Linked DNA regions of Homo sapiens: region 2 is linked to region 1. Evidence: promoter capture Hi-C in human tissues and cell types (Jung and others, 2019). All regions are on one chromosome and are shown on one strand. The core of a region is centred on a gene start or on the middle of the fragment in contact, and the rest is flanking DNA. Distances in the headings are between cores, read along the strand shown. Region 1 holds the start of S1PR1 (sphingosine-1-phosphate receptor 1). Region 2 overlaps CDC14A (cell division cycle 14A).

The links. Contacts are between HindIII fragments. The study calls those that stand out against the background at their distance.
Region 2: a fragment that was not itself captured here is called in contact with the fragment with the promoter of S1PR1 in region 1 in 1 of the 25 tissues and cell types used here (lymphoblastoid cells).

The regions. Positions count from the first base shown.
Region 1 is chr1:101,235,769-101,241,031 of GRCh38, forward strand. It overlaps S1PR1 (sphingosine-1-phosphate receptor 1), which reads left to right and starts at 1,251. Exons shown (of 2, transcript NM_001400.5): 1 at 1,251-1,331; 2 at 3,054-5,263. The coding sequence starts at 3,217. The coding sequence ends at 4,365. S1PR1-DT (S1PR1 divergent transcript) reads right to left here and starts at 760. Exons shown (of 2, transcript NR_104626.1): 1 at 557-760; 2 at 1-113. RefSeq lists enhancers at 341-430, 3,064-3,113. The HindIII fragment of the contact is 36,645 bases long and covers 1-5,263 here.
Region 2 is chr1:100,364,084-100,369,346 of GRCh38, forward strand. All of the region lies in intron 2 of CDC14A (cell division cycle 14A), which reads left to right. Among named protein-coding and RNA genes, the nearest start is that of CDC14A, 14 kb to the left of the region's middle. The HindIII fragment of the contact is 5,317 bases long and covers 1-4,872 here.

The DNA.
Region 1 (5,263 bases), core at 1-2,500:
TGGGTGGAAACTTTTACAACAGTAATGCAAGGGCAGAAGCGTCCTGTCCTGAGCTTGTCACGCAGGCAGATCTGACCAAGTCCGCCTCTCAGCCTCACGTTCTTAAGTAGCATCTAAGCAAAAGAAAAGGGTGGGCAAAGTGCTAGTAATGAGATTTGAGGCCTCTGAGTCGACTCCCAAGCAGAATGTGAGAGAAGGGTGCCGGCTCCTGCTGGGCAGCTGCAGTTGCTCCGCAGCTCCTGGCCGAGAATCTCCCCCTTTGGAAATTCCTGAGCTGCCCAGGCGTTTTGAATCTCTCAGGACTCAGCAGCAGCCCACCCCCTCAACGACCTCTCCATTGGCCAGAATCTGGGACACACAGCCTGACTTTGTGCTCAGCTGAGGGAAACCCCTCGCCCAACACCAAAACCGGCGCTGGTTCATTTCTCTGTGCACTCTGGGAAAGCCACTGCCCCTCAGACCGCAGTTGCGAGTAGCACGAGGATCTGGGGTGGCGGGGGGAGTACAGGAACCTCCCGGTTCATTCTCCCTCCCGGGCTGCTTGTCTCCTCCGTACCTCTCGCAGCCCCTTCCCAGCCTCTCCTCCCCAGAGCGCCGCCGACACTCGCCGGGCCGCGGCTCAGGTTTTCTGCTGCTCGCGCGAAAGTGGCTCGGGGAGCTCCTGGCCACAAGCTCAGCACACCGATCCTCCTAGGGCTGCGGGGGGTGTGGGACCAGGGCGGTGCGCTACGAGACTCCGGGCCGTCCTCTGCCTCCTCAGACTTTTCGAGAGAAAAGTTTTCAAAGTCTCTCCACCTTTTTTTTTTTTCAGGGGCTCGGGAGAATCCTCTCCACAGCCAGGGATCAGCGTCTATCTGGGCGAGGGCAGTGATTTATACAGTAGAATCCAGGGGTTACCGGGCTCCGCCCCTTCTCTCTCTCTCTTTTTTTCTTTCATTTGTTGTTTGGGGAGGAGGGGTTCTTTTTTTTTTTTTTTTTTTTTTTTTTGCTTCTGCCCCAGATCTTTCCTGGACAGTGCGTCTCAGCAGTTCAGATCCGGGGGCCCCCAGCTGACAGAGGGCGTGGGGGGTTAAGGCATTAACCCCTCCCAGCCTCTTCCTGAAGAAACCACCCAGCCTTGGCGCGGCGCTGGGTGACTTCGCGTAGCAGGCAGGGAACTGGCCGCGGCGAGCGGGACTGGCCATTGGAGTGCTCCGCTGCGGAGGGAGGGGACCCCGACTCGAGTAAGTTTGCGAGAGCACTACGCAGTCAGTCGGGGGCAGCAGCAAGATGCGAAGCGAGCCGTACAGATCCCGGGCTCTCCGAACGCAACTTCGCCCTGCTTGAGCGAGGTAGGGGGCGGCGAATGGCGGGGGTCGCGGGCGCGGGGAGCCCGGTTGTGGTAGGGCTTAGGTGTCAGAAACGAATTTTTAAGTCGAACGAGGCAAACAAAAACTTAGAAAACATGCATCTCCGGGCGCTGAAAATTTGCATCTCTGGGCTACTAAGGAGCCCATCTCGATCAGATTGTTCTTGGGCACTTGTGATTTATGGAGTTCAGAAAAAAGGTTAATTCCCAACTGTGGAACCTACGGGTGTAGGGGCAGTGAAAATTGCAGTTGGTCGGAGGAATAGGAGGGAAGGCGTTAAATTTTGGAAATCCTATAGACAAAGAATATGGTGGGTGGTGTGGAGCGTGGGTAATGGCTTAAATTAGTACTGCCCAGGAGCAGGGTATAAAATTAGTTGGGGGAAAATGCGGAGCTTCTTGGCTTGAGCAGCCTCTGCTGTTCGCGGAGTTGCTGGGATTGTTCTCATCTCTATTACCTCATTTTATTGCATTGCTGCATTACCTTGAAATATTTAAGCAACTTAGAAGTAGACTTCTGCTGACCAGTGCCGTCTTAGAAAGTTTCTTTGTAACTTTCTAGTCCTAGGAGAGGAGTCAACGTGTTGGGGGACTGCAGTAAATAAAACTGCCCACGCAAATTTAGCAATGCACCAGGGAGCAGTTTAATGTGAGTTTCTGAAGAGTAGTTTTGCAATCGAAATTAGAAATGTGGTAGCATGTATTATGGCTGTCATGAGTAGTTTGATTTCTCTCTTTTGTGTATGTTTTGGCTAAACTAAACAAAGCAAAAAATATTTATGCAATCAACTAATGTACGAAACTTCTGGGATTTGCTGCAATCTGTTATGAATGGTTTTAACTGAATACCTTTAAATTTACTTGCCCTGGCTTGGGGTGGGGGGTGGGGTGGGGGGGCGCGGGGGGAGGCGGGGAGAATAAGAAGAAGAAAGAAAAGGCAGTCGCTTCACGGAGGCGCTAAGCTTTCCTGTTTACAGCAAGGCGGGGCGGGCCTGGCTGCCCACACCTCACTGCGCCCTCGGACCCTAAGCACACCTGCTCCTAGAGAGTTATTAATAGAGCCCCCAAATGGCTTACGCTTTCAAATGATTTTCCTGCAAATCTGATTTCTTGCATGGCACATGGCAATTAGGAGGTGGTGCTAGTATCTTTGAACTGGGGGGCTGGGGGTGGGCATGGGGGACAGAGGTGTGTGTCTTCGCCCTCAGACTGGCAGTTGAGTCTTTTCCGAGGAGAGACGTGGGCTGGTATTGAGCGTGCAGCTAAGCTGGTGACTGCTTCAGAGAATCTCATGGCTGGAAATCCGGGGGTGAGGGGGTGTGGGGTGGTGAGAGGGCAGGAGTGGAGTTAAAATGGGGTGTAGTTCTCTAGGTTTCCCATTCCTCCCACTCCTTGTTTTCCTTTTCATCATCTTTTTTTTTTTGTCAACCCACAGCCAACATCGTAATTCCCATTTCCCTTTGAGTGAATGTGGCCATAGAGTTTCTCCCTCTCTTTTTCTTCCCCCTCTTCCTTTTTTGAAAAAAGAAAAAAAAGGAAGAAAAAAGATAATTTGATTTTTAAAAAAAATCTCTCTCCCTGAGCTCTCCCCAAGTTTCTTTAAAACAAATCAACAACAACACAATTGGAGCAGTGCCTTAGCTAGAATGAATTATGCCAGTATGCTGTGGCTCTTTCCCTGACTCTCTCCTCTGACTTGTTTAAGGCTGCGGTTTCCGAGGCCCTCTCCAGCCAAGGAAAAGCTACACAAAAAGCCTGGATCACTCATCGAACCACCCCTGAAGCCAGTGAAGGCTCTCTCGCCTCGCCCTCTAGCGTTCGTCTGGAGTAGCGCCACCCCGGCTTCCTGGGGACACAGGGTTGGCACCATGGGGCCCACCAGCGTCCCGCTGGTCAAGGCCCACCGCAGCTCGGTCTCTGACTACGTCAACTATGATATCATCGTCCGGCATTACAACTACACGGGAAAGCTGAATATCAGCGCGGACAAGGAGAACAGCATTAAACTGACCTCGGTGGTGTTCATTCTCATCTGCTGCTTTATCATCCTGGAGAACATCTTTGTCTTGCTGACCATTTGGAAAACCAAGAAATTCCACCGACCCATGTACTATTTTATTGGCAATCTGGCCCTCTCAGACCTGTTGGCAGGAGTAGCCTACACAGCTAACCTGCTCTTGTCTGGGGCCACCACCTACAAGCTCACTCCCGCCCAGTGGTTTCTGCGGGAAGGGAGTATGTTTGTGGCCCTGTCAGCCTCCGTGTTCAGTCTCCTCGCCATCGCCATTGAGCGCTATATCACAATGCTGAAAATGAAACTCCACAACGGGAGCAATAACTTCCGCCTCTTCCTGCTAATCAGCGCCTGCTGGGTCATCTCCCTCATCCTGGGTGGCCTGCCTATCATGGGCTGGAACTGCATCAGTGCGCTGTCCAGCTGCTCCACCGTGCTGCCGCTCTACCACAAGCACTATATCCTCTTCTGCACCACGGTCTTCACTCTGCTTCTGCTCTCCATCGTCATTCTGTACTGCAGAATCTACTCCTTGGTCAGGACTCGGAGCCGCCGCCTGACGTTCCGCAAGAACATTTCCAAGGCCAGCCGCAGCTCTGAGAAGTCGCTGGCGCTGCTCAAGACCGTAATTATCGTCCTGAGCGTCTTCATCGCCTGCTGGGCACCGCTCTTCATCCTGCTCCTGCTGGATGTGGGCTGCAAGGTGAAGACCTGTGACATCCTCTTCAGAGCGGAGTACTTCCTGGTGTTAGCTGTGCTCAACTCCGGCACCAACCCCATCATTTACACTCTGACCAACAAGGAGATGCGTCGGGCCTTCATCCGGATCATGTCCTGCTGCAAGTGCCCGAGCGGAGACTCTGCTGGCAAATTCAAGCGACCCATCATCGCCGGCATGGAATTCAGCCGCAGCAAATCGGACAATTCCTCCCACCCCCAGAAAGACGAAGGGGACAACCCAGAGACCATTATGTCTTCTGGAAACGTCAACTCTTCTTCCTAGAACTGGAAGCTGTCCACCCACCGGAAGCGCTCTTTACTTGGTCGCTGGCCACCCCAGTGTTTGGAAAAAAATCTCTGGGCTTCGACTGCTGCCAGGGAGGAGCTGCTGCAAGCCAGAGGGAGGAAGGGGGAGAATACGAACAGCCTGGTGGTGTCGGGTGTTGGTGGGTAGAGTTAGTTCCTGTGAACAATGCACTGGGAAGGGTGGAGATCAGGTCCCGGCCTGGAATATATTTTCTACCCCCCTGGAGCTTTGATTTTGCACTGAGCCAAAGGTCTAGCATTGTCAAGCTCCTAAAGGGTTCATTTGGCCCCTCCTCAAAGACTAATGTCCCCATGTGAAAGCGTCTCTTTGTCTGGAGCTTTGAGGAGATGTTTTCCTTCACTTTAGTTTCAAACCCAAGTGAGTGTGTGCACTTCTGCTTCTTTAGGGATGCCCTGTACATCCCACACCCCACCCTCCCTTCCCTTCATACCCCTCCTCAACGTTCTTTTACTTTATACTTTAACTACCTGAGAGTTATCAGAGCTGGGGTTGTGGAATGATCGATCATCTATAGCAAATAGGCTATGTTGAGTACGTAGGCTGTGGGAAGATGAAGATGGTTTGGAGGTGTAAAACAATGTCCTTCGCTGAGGCCAAAGTTTCCATGTAAGCGGGATCCGTTTTTTGGAATTTGGTTGAAGTCACTTTGATTTCTTTAAAAAACATCTTTTCAATGAAATGTGTTACCATTTCATATCCATTGAAGCCGAAATCTGCATAAGGAAGCCCACTTTATCTAAATGATATTAGCCAGGATCCTTGGTGTCCTAGGAGAAACAGACAAGCAAAACAAAGTGAAAACCGAATGGATTAACTTTTGCAAACCAAGGGAGATTTCTTAGCAAATGAGTCT
Region 2 (5,263 bases), core at 964-3,463, 870 kb before region 1:
ATGCCACAGCACTCAGCCTAGGTGGCAGATCAAGACCCTGTCACAAAAAAAAAATTTATTGATCACAATTTACTTTTTTTCTGTCATACACAGACTTCATCATTATGGATGATCATCTTTTTTTTTTTTAATTTTTTATTTTTGAGATGGAGTCTCGCTCTGTTGCCAGGCTGGAGTGCAGTGGCCCGATGTCGGCTCACTGCAACCTCTGCCTCCCAGGTTCAAGCGATTCTCTTGCCTCAGACTCCCAAGTAGCTGGGACTACAGGTGCATGCCACCACACCCAGCTAATTTTTGTATTTTTTTTTTTAATAGAGACAGGGTTTCACCATGTTGGCCAGGATGGTCTCAATCTCTTGACCTCGTGATCCGCCCGCCTCGGCCTCCCAAAGTGCTGGGATTACAGGCGGAGCCGTTGCCCCCGGCCCTGTGATCCTCACCACAAATTTTAGAGTAATTATTTTCCTTTTGAGAGCCTCAGCCACTTTATGAAATCTGAGGGTTAGCCTTTTATGTATGGGGGAATCGCTCATCATTCTGTTTTCTAACAAAGCTTTGCATATACTGTCTGTATAGCTCTCCTGCCTTCAGTACTAGCCATTGAATAATGGAGTTAATTTACACTGCTTGAGAATATTTCTGTGGGAGTGAATTTTAATTTTCCCAGTGCATTCCTGAAGAAGTCTCCTTTTGTTTTCGTTAATCTGAGTCTCTAAGGGAGTTTTTATTAACTGACCTTCTCTAACGAGGGATGTTAGAATTACAGACCCTGATACTGGAAGGTTTCTTGATACCATCTGGTCTGTTGTTTGGCTTTAAGGCAAAGTGAAAGCACTCACTTATTTTACAGAAACAGCAGCTGACACCTGACCTGACCAGTATTTACCTCGGGTTAAGAAGGTAATAAGTGGAGAATGGTTCCTCACCCTCTGGTGTTGTAAACCTGAACTTTCTTAGAAATCTAGACAATGCATCAAGGGACAGGATTGATAGTTGATATTGGGGTTCTCTCCTTCCTTTATGATCTCAACAAATGTCAGACTTTTTGCAGACAAGTAAGTAATAAAGATGATAAGTTTCCTAATACATGTAGCTGCTTTGTAGTCTGTGGGTTTGCTTTCTGGCTGTGCAGAAAACAGTGAATTTCATGGAAAAAGTTGTGTTCTTTTCCTTCCTCAAAGAGGAGACACTCTGAGGGAAATGTTTTCTGTACCCAGACCCAATGCACTGAGAGGACAGACAGAACAGAGAACATCAAATAGGGCAAGTAGACCTTGAGAAACATTTGAACAGTTGAATGGGTTTGTCCAATAAGGATAACTAGAGTCATAGACTCTGTAGAGTCTATATAGCGGCTAGAACTGTGATATATGATATTACATAAGAGCTGGAAAGAACTTTAGGAGCCATCTAATTCAGTGGCTTCATTTGATAGATGAGGACGTGGAGTCCCAGAGAGGCTACGACACCAGATTAGGGACACTGAGTGACCAAATTGGGACTGGAACCTTTTGGCACCCAGTGATCTTTAGTTCTGCATCAGACTGCTGTGTGTGTGGGAAGCTTGTTAGATGTGCAGCAACTCTTCCCCAAGAAGTTGGCATCAGTGTGACTGTGGGTGGTTATGCTAAAGGGCTTGAGCAAAAACTCAGACTAGTGCCCTCATCTGAGGTTGGTATTTGTTATGCAGTTAGGACCTTTTTAAAATGTGATCATTATGAGTTCAGCCATAATAATCACGTCTCATACAGAAACTTTATCATCTGACTGGAGGGGTGCGGATAGTATTCTAGTGATAGGGAAACTGTTAGGTAATGTGTGGCCCAGAGGCATTGCTGATCAATTTCAACAAAATTTTACACACACACACACACACACACACACACACACACACGGTCTCATTGTGTTTTGGAGGATACTGCTATTTTAGCATTTATCACATTGTAATAATGTCTTTACCTGTCTTCTCAGTAGATAGTGAGCTCCTTGTGGGTAGGGACTGGTGACCAATAGGCTTTTAGTAACTATTTGAGTGAGCAAGTGAATGAAGAGACAAAAAACGTCAGCAGTGCTGGTAAAACATTGAAAGGTTGGCATGCCTTATAACGATCTTATAGAATTTATTCATCCTGTTTTTAAAGCAGTTAATTTTTTTTGTATTGCAAGTACTCTGTGATGAATATGCTAACTAGTAATGCCTTGCTCAGAATAGGTAGTCATAAATTTTGTTGAATGAATGAGTACTTCTTGGAATGTAGCTTATCTTTTTGCTGAGGTGTTGGGAATTTTCACATGAAGCTTCTAATGTGTAGAATAAGGTATAACAATACTTCAAACAATGATTCCTCTGGGAATTGACTCACTTAAATTATAGTTTATTAGAAAAACCGAAGACAAAATAATGGTACATCATAAACTTCATAAATCTGTGAGAAGAGCTGCACATGTTGAGTATGACAGCAAGGCTTTTAGGCCCAGCTTCTATGTCCCTTCAAATTTGTAGGACCTGCACCTGTGGGGTGGTGGGTGATCCTACCCTTGTGAATGTTTGCTCTGATCCTTGGGCTCCTGTTTCTTTGTTCTCCTGGTAAGGAGATGAACCTCCTTCCTCCTCCACTTGCAGGACTCCAAATGCTCCAATTCTTTTAGTTTCTTTCCTGTCAAAACAGAAAAGGGTTTGATTTTAGCTATTTACACTTACTGAATAAAAAGATGGATGGACCGATTTTCCCTTAATAGTTCATGAGTTTCATTGTAGGCATTGACCCATAATTTGCCAATCTTCTTAGAAGAAATCTGCAAATAGGTGGAGAGAATCATTCGTTCATTTGTTAATTCATTTGGAGATGAACGCACGGGTACTCTGAAATAATAAAATGTCCGTGTTTTTCCCTGGCCACATGAGACCAAAAGACTACTCCCCTCTGCCAAGACAAAGTGGGGACCCGTGCTTGGCTGTGGCTCTGGAAGCCTTTTCCTAGGAAATGCCAGAGTGGAGAAGACTCTGTCCATTGTCATTAACTTCAAGTTTAGGAGTGCACTCAGCCCTCAGATTTCTGAATAGTCTCTGAAGTACTTATTTCTACCATCTCCTCCCTTTTCACTATCCCCAGGTTGATGACCTTCCATTTCTCCTCTTCCACCCTGCTTTTGTTCCAAGCTGCCCAAATAAATCTAGCACATTTGATTATTTTCATTGATTATCAATTAATTTTTATTTTGAATTTCCCTCTAGCTAATAGTATGTATTATAAGTATGTTTTCATTTTTCCCTCAACTCTGGTGAAGAAGGTTCTTACAAAGGAGCATGTTGTTGGAAGATGTCTTCTTTATTCACAGTATTTCATTATACCAAAGTTGGTGATAACCCAGCATGGTGTGAACAACTATCAGCAATTTTTCAATGATCTTGACATTTAAAAATATATTTATTAATAGTAAGCTAGAAAACTATATGTATAAGACTATATTATTTTAAATACATAAATAGTCTTACAAGTGTAAGTATTGTATCAAATGACCTTAAGATAAGATAGAGCTTGTTGGCTTTATATTTGTGACAATTCTGACTTTTGAAGACTTGTTCAAAATTGCTCTTGGTTGTGCAAAACTTTTGACTGAATTTTTTTAGTGTAACTTGAAGCTCATCCGTCTTTTTGTGGGATATAAAGGCTGGCCCACTGAGCTTCAACATACTGTGGGGTGGGAAGTCCTCTGGGTTAGGATTGCTTATTTTTTTTCTACCTTTAACCTGAGGCTCTTGCCAAAAGAGAGGCATAACTTCTTCATTGTTGCTATCTTTGGATAGCAGCCTACTCTTAAAACAGCCTGTCTTTTTGAGAGACAGTGAAGGAGGGTGGGAACTAGATCCTCACCTATTTTTCCATTCTCTTATGTTCCAAGTCCCAACTGGCTTTTTGGAAATATGACCCTCTTGAACAAAACAGGATAAAAATTACCAGGGCCTATTCTCACTGTTGGGAAATAATTGGGCCTTTGTAGGGAAAGGATATTGTCTTCAAACATTTTATCTATACTTCGTTTATGGTACTTGGTAATTTCTTTTATCTTTTATAGTTATTTTGATATGTCTTTTCATCTTGATCAGTATTGTCCATCAGTGCAGAACATTGTTGAATTCTGTAGCCATTAGCTACGTGTGGCTTTTGAACACATTTGAAATAATTGAAGAATTTTTAATTTGTTTCACCTTAGTTAATTTAAATTTAAATAGCCATGACTAGTGGCTACCATGTTGGAGAGTACAGATCAACTTAAGGATAATGTTTGTATTTGATTTACTTTCTCCTGTGTTATTGTAGTATGCCAATTTTATTTCCTGGTGTTTGGTGAAATAGGTTCATATGTGAACCATATTGCTTTCAAAAGTACATGTGGCTAAGCCAATCTGATTGTTAGAAATTGTACATCTTTGAATTTGAGTTTGAAGTTGGATTGTAATGGTTAGTATGAAACTGGAATTTGATGACGAATTCTTTTTTAAAAAATTTCAACTTTTATTTTAGATTCAGGGGTATATGTGCAGGTTTGTATACAAGCATATTTTGTGATGCTAAGGTTTGGGGTATAAATGATCCTGTCACCCAGGTAGTGAGCATAGTTCCCAATAGTTAGTTTTGCAACCCTTTACTCCCTTCTTCCCTCCCCACTTCAGTAGTCCTTCATGTCTATTGTTGCCATCTTTTTGTCCGTGAGTAGTCAATTGTGTAGTTCCCACTTATAAATGAGAACATGCGGTATTTGGTTTTCTATTCCTGCATTAATTCTTTTAGGATAATAGCCTCCAGCTTCATCCATGTTGCTGCAAAGATAGAACGATTTATTTTCTTTTGGATATATACCCAGTAATGGGATTGCTGGGTTGAATGGTAGTTCTGTTTTAAGTTTTTTTGAGAAATCTCCAAACTGCTTTTCACAGTGGCTGGACTAATTTAGATTCCCGCCGCCAACAGTGTGAATCTGTTGTTTTTTGACATTTTTTTTTTTTTTTTGAGATGGAGTCTCGCTCTGTCGCCAGGCTGGAGTGCAGTGGCGCAATCTCGGCTCACTGCAACCTCCGCCTCCTGGGTTCAAGCAATTTTCCTGCCTCTGCCTCCTGGGTTCAAGCGATTCTCCTGCCTCAGCCTCCAAGGTAGCTGTGACTACAGGCATGTGCCACCACGCCCAGCTAATTTTTGTATTTTTAGTAGAGATGGGGTTTCACCATGTTGGCCAGGATGGTCTTGATCTCTTGACCTCGTGA